Regions from separate parts of the Homo sapiens genome. Here region 1 is linked to region 2. Evidence: promoter capture Hi-C in human tissues and cell types (Jung and others, 2019). All regions are on one chromosome and are shown on one strand. Each heading gives the region's core, a stretch centred on a gene start or on the middle of the fragment in contact. The rest is flanking DNA. Distances are from core to core; before and after follow the strand shown.

Region 1 (2,975 bases), core at 277-2,776, 370 kb before region 2:
TGATAGTCACGTTCACATTCTCTCCAGTATCTCTCTCTATCCCAGTCATCGAGTCTTTCTCGTTCCATTGGAGCATTTCTACCATCTAATGGAAACTCTTCATGCCCTCGCTCTTCTCCATGGTTCCATGGAGCCCTAGGAGGCTCATCCCGGTGATATGGATACATTTTTTCCCCACCATCTCCTGGTTCTGGTCTGAATGGACCTCTATCACGACCAAAATCTGATCTTCCCAGTCCCCTTTCTCGACTGCCAGGCCCTCGAGGTGGTCCTCTCTCCCTGCTCCCAGCTCTTCGGGGTGGTATTCTCTCTCTACTCCCAGCCCTTCGAAGAGGTCCCCTCTCCTGACTGCCAGCCCTCCGAGGTGGTCCCCTTTCTCGGCTGCCAGCTGCACCCCTGTCCTGGCTCCCTTGAAGACCACCTGGCACTTTCTCCCGACTGCTTCCAGGCCTCACCAACCCTCTGTCCCGGCTACCTTCTCCTCTGTTCATCTTCTCTCGACTATCTTCTCTTCTACCCATCATCTTATCCCGAAAGTCTTCTTGCTTGACCAATCCTGGGCCTCGACTGATTGCCTGGCCGCGACCTCTGTTTACTAGACCTTTATCCCGTGTGTCTTCCATTCTGCTTTGCCCAGGACCTCTGTAAGATGAGCTGTTGCCTCTATTGCCTTCTAATCTATTATCTCTATTATCTGGCCGAGGCAGGCCTTTATCTTGGTTGTTTTCTGAATGGGGTAGACCAATACCCACAGGTTTAAAATCATTATCTGCTGTTAATGATGATGTTGCTACTGCTGTTCCTCCCTCCATCCCCCCTGTTTTTGAAGGAAAAGTAGATTGAGCAGGTACAGGCTTATTCGCAAGGGGTACAGGCTGAGTAACAGCTTGGGCTTTGTCGATTTGAGTCTCCATACTTTGAACATTCTGGTCCCAATTAGAGGGCTCTACGGGCCCTTCCGAGACTTCACTTTTAGGTGGCTCTTGTTGAGAGTCGCTTAGATTCTCATTTGACTGAGCCGCCTTGACATCCTTTACATCTGCAGCAATGGAAAATGCAGCTGATTGCATTTTAAAATTCTTCTGCTGGTTACTACTGGTGTCTGCTAATGGTTCTTTGTTTCCTGAAAGAGGTTCTGCTTGTGACTTAGGTTGCTGCTGATGCTGCTGTCCAAAAGCTGGTTTGGGGCCTTTCCACTGTGGTCCACTCTGTCGAGGACTTAGGGATGTACTGGGGGTAATATAAAATTGAGATGCTGGCCCCCGGGGAATCATTCCCCACTTGCTTTTAGTGCCCTCTGCTGGGTGACCTTCATATCTGGGTCTTGGCCCATCGGGGCGATTTCCTTCAAAACGAGGCCCTTTGGGTCTCGGTCCTTCACACCTTGACCCTAAATCCTCAAATCTTCGAGGACCATCAAATCTACAAGTAAAACAAAAGATATTACTCAAGACAGTAAAGCAGAAAAAAAAAATTCTCCATGTAAGAATATTTAAGGCACTCTTGCCTTAGAATTTGTTTACAACAATGACTCTTTTCAGTCATTAAATTAATCCTGAGTCACCAATATCTTAGAACCAGTATGTTAAGGTGGCAGTGCTCAGAAGGTCTTAGGACAGGCTTTGGAAATCATGTCAGTATTATCTAACTTACTTCAACACATCTCCTGCCGCAAGTCACTGATATACTGAACGGTTAAAAAGCAATTACAGGCCTGGCGCAGTGGCTCACACTTGTAATCACAGCACTTTGGGAGGCAGAGATGGGCAGATCACCTGAGATCAAGAGTTCAAGACCAGCCTGGCCAACATGGTGAAACCCTATCTCTACTAAAAAAAAAAAAAAAAAAAAAATACAAAAATTTAGCCAGGTGTGGTGGCAGGTGCCTGCAAATCCCAGCTGCTTGGGAGGCTGAGGCAGGAGAATCACTTGAACCTGGGAGGCAGAGGTTGCAGTGAGCTGAGATCACGCTATTGCACTCTAGACTGGGTGACAAGAGTGAGACTCCGTCTCAAAAAAAAAAAAAAAAAAAAGCAATTATAAATACTGTGCCTTAGGAGACAGAAAAGGCTGCTCATTTTAAAGAGAAAAAAATTAACAAATTCCATAACTAACTCTGAGCACTTCTGGAATTAAATTGTAACTAAAAACTAAATATGAAAAGACTAACAAGAAAATATAGGATGATTATAAATATTGTTAGAGCTAGCACTAACATTTTGATTGACAAAAGTTAAAAAAAAAAAAAAAAGAAACAGTAGCCCTATCTTAAGAGTAGGTTCTGACATTTTAAAAAGTCTGCACAGTTATTTTTGCTATAAACCCACTTGCTCATCCAGTAAAAAGAAAGTACACATCCTTTATCTGTCAGGCATTACATTACATCCAAGAGATACAAGAATAAAATGTCATATGTGCCCTCAAAGAGTTTACAACAAAATATAAAGATAATCTAAGTGTAAATAAGTACCAAGAGATGTAATGTCTCAAGTCTATGTGTACACAATAAGGAAAACAGAATTGGAGAGGCTTATGTTGAGTTTTAAAAGACAACTTCTCTGAAATCAAGCTGACAGAATGAGTTGGAGATGAGGAAAGTATGTGGCAAGGGCACCTCAAGCTAAGGAAGCAAGAGGAAAGGCGGAGAAACGTGTATCAGCAGAGCATGTTTGGAAGTGCAAATAGTTTAGCATGGCTAATGCAAAGGGGAAACAGAGTCAAGAGAGCTGATAAAGAGGGAAATGTGGAAAAGCAGCACACTAAAAAATAAGGTAAAGAAGTAAGCGAGGATCACTCTCCAGAAGATTGTGTATGCCTCATGTGGCAGAGACTACTGGTGGTCTTCCAATACCCATTCCCCACTTATCTACAATAACAGGCCTCCTGTAGCTAGACACAAGGCCCCCCAGACAAGACTCTCTTTCTCAATATCTCTTGCAGCTAGAACTGGCAGCCAAGTTCTGGCCAAGGAGCTG
Region 2 (2,962 bases), core at 296-2,795:
CTGTATGTCTGTGTTTTGAGGAGGAGGGTGTCTGTGAAGATGAAGTATGGGCCTGAGATGAGTGGTCCAAGACCCTTGCTGGCCTCAGGGGGCTTCTCACTGCATTATCCACTAATGGGGCAGAGACAGGAAGAGCAATAATATATTTAGCACCCAACAAGTTAAACACCAATACCAGCCCTGAGACAGACCCCAGGATAAGGGAGTTCTCTGTCCTGCCTTGAAGGGAAGGAGACCCAAGCCCCATGATGTGGACTTGCTCCTGGCTCCTACTGTGCACTCTAGGAGCTACACCGAACTGTGCCAGATGCCCACATCCTGTGGGAGTGAAGGAGTCCTGGAGTCCACCATGCTATGTGCTATAGCATCCTCAGCTGGATGCTAGGAGACTAGTGGATGCTAGTGGAATCCCACTGCCAGACCCTGGTTCCTTGTGTCTTCCAGCCCCAGCTGCAGCCTGCTCTGTGGTTTACTTTGCAAACCCACACTTACCTTCAGAAAATGAGAATACTCTCTCCTCCTGACCTCCTGGGACTTTGGTGAGACTCAAGACCTTGTGAAGGCGCTCGAAGAATAGGTTCATCCACTGGTAACACTCAAGATAGGGCATCCCCATGCAAAAAAAAAAAAAAAAAAGGAAACGCAGGTGGAGGTGGATAAAGAGCAGCACAGGGTGGAGACAAAGCAGCCAAAAGGCCTGCATTCGGATCTCAGGGCTCTTGCTGGGAAAACTCAGGGGGACGCTCACTCACTGAGTGCCTATTGAGTGCCAATGTGTCACGTATGTCATCTCATTTTGTCCTCATATGACCCCTCACTTTGTCCATGAGGAACCTGAGGCTTTAAGAGGTTAGGTAACTTGCTCGAGGTTATACAGCAAGTGGGACCCTAGGACCAAAACTTAGGTCCATGAGCTTTAAAACCTGTGCCCTTCCCAGCACAGCACTGAATCTCCAAATCACAGGATTTCATCCTTGTGAGCCCAGCGTCCTGGTCTGCAAAATTGGAGGGGGAAGGGGGACAGGGGGAGGGGGGCAGGGGGAGGGGAAGAGGGGAAGAGGGGCACTATATTGCCTAATAGAGTTGTTAAGAAAATTAAATGAGCTTATGTTGATTAAACACATTATCGGGCTTGGTATCTGGTATATAGTAGGTGCTCAATAAATGCTTTCTGTTTGTTTTTCTTTTTAGGGCAGATCAATGTTAAAAACTCAGGGCTGGCTTTGGAGCCTAGGAGCTCCAAAATGCTTCAAGAAGCCCAAGGGCCTCCCATCGCTCTGGGGTGCGCGGGAGGAGGGGAGAGAAGGGCTGGGAAAGAGGGCTCGGCTCCAGGAAGCGGGTACGCGGGTTCCAGCTGCGCGCCCCTCGCTTCGCCGCCTCCTCCGGGCTCCCCCGACTTCCCGCCCCGCCCCGCCCCGGAGCCGGGTCCGGAGTGCCTGGTGGGCTGATTCCGGAGCGTGGAAGGGAGCACGGAGCACGGAAGCGAGAGGGAGGCGGCGGCGGCGGGAGGCGGGAAGGAGGGGGACCCTCCTCGCTGCTCTCCCAAGTCGGCGCGGAGCCGCCTCGGGCCGGGCCGAGGGCTGCGCGGCGGCGGCGGCGGCGGGGCCCGGCCAGGATGCGGGGCTCCCGGGACCGCGCGGGGCGGGGCGGGCGGCGGCGGCGGGCTGCGGGCGGGAGCTGTCCGCGGTGCTGAAGCGGCGGCTGCTCAGGGACGCGGGGACGAGAGCAGGGGAGCCCTCCTGGGAGTTCCACCGCGACCGCGAGGCGGGGGCGCCGTCGCTCACCGGCCCATGCCGAGCCCCCGAGCCCCGCGGAGGAGGCGGGACCGTCCGCGGCGGGACAGGTAAGGGGCGGTCTGGGGGCGCCGCGGGAGCGCAGAGCTAGGCACGGAGCGGGGAGTGAGCTGGGGAGGGCACGGGAGCCCTCTCGGGGCTAGGGGCTCTGACTCCCTGCTTGGCCGCACCTTGCGCTCCGCCAAGGCTTGCACTTCGTCCCTCCCTACCCCTCATCCTGCAGGCTGGGGGTGCTGGGAGGGGGCTGATGAACTGGGGTCAAGACACCATAACCTCACAACATCAGGCCTTGACCCTGACCTCAGGCAGCTCCTAGACATCCTGCCTACTGACGGCAAGAAATACTGATTAGAGCCTCAGACTCCCTGGTACCCCAGTCCCCACCAAGGTTTTGCGACACTAGCAAAATCTGAGCAGGCTTCACTAAGCTCCCCTCTTCTCGCACCCAAACCTGTTCACCCAGGTGACTGAGGTGGCTGTGGTACCCCCTGCTCTGAGATTTCTCTGCCCTGGAAATGGCTCTTGGGCCAAGGGATTGGCTCTTGGGCCAAGGCCCCTTAGGATGGATTAACCCATTTCTTCAGGGAAGGAAGGAGGTCCTGGAAGATACCTCAATTTTTTTTCCTATGACACTCTTGACGCTCACAGAAGCAGGCAGGATTTGCATCACATCTCTTGGCGCATGAGGGCAAAGAGTCAGGGAACCTGGGTCCTGTTTTCTATTATGTGCTGGTGACCCTAGACAGAGCCTCCATTAGGAGTTCTCTCTCTTTCTGGCAAGAGTGCGCTGAATGAGCTCATTCAGGCCTGCAAAGTGCTTCTAGTTCTTCAGAGCAGAGTTCTCTATGACTGGCAGAATGTAGCGATCAAAATAAAACTGCGTGGAGGAAGAATTGGCCTACCCTTGTGGCTGACCACTTCTTTCTACTGCTTTATCCCCACCCTCCAACCCAACACAACTTCCCTACCCCCAGGGGTAGAAAGAGCACTAGAGTAGGAGTTCCTGGCTGGGTGCTGGCATTTACTGGCTTTAGCTAGTTCCCTAAGCTCTTTCAACCTCATCCTCCTCACCCCTGGAGTGGGGATAAGGTCACCGCTCTGCTCACCTCAGGGAACTGCCTTGGGGCCCAATGAAAAACAATGCACCTGATTGGAGGCTTGCCACCTGT

Evidence for each region. The method cuts DNA at HindIII sites, captures the fragments that hold promoters and counts their contacts. A contact is called where the count stands out against the background at its distance.
Region 1: a contact is called between a fragment that was not itself captured here and the fragment with the promoter of SYNDIG1L in region 2, in 1 of the 25 tissues and cell types used here (mesenchymal stem cells).

What each region holds. Positions count from the first base shown.
Region 1 is chr14:74,796,027-74,799,001 of GRCh38, reverse strand. It overlaps YLPM1 (YLP motif containing 1), which reads right to left. Exons shown (of 21, transcript NM_019589.3): 5 at 1-1,422. Among named protein-coding and RNA genes, the nearest start is that of YLPM1, 34 kb to the right of the region's middle. The HindIII fragment of the contact is 5,826 bases long and covers 1-2,975 here.
Region 2 is chr14:74,424,793-74,427,754 of GRCh38, reverse strand. SYNDIG1L (synapse differentiation inducing 1 like) reads left to right here and starts at 1,545. Exons shown (of 4, transcript NM_001105579.2): 1 at 1,545-1,843. The HindIII fragment of the contact is 14,133 bases long and covers 1-2,962 here.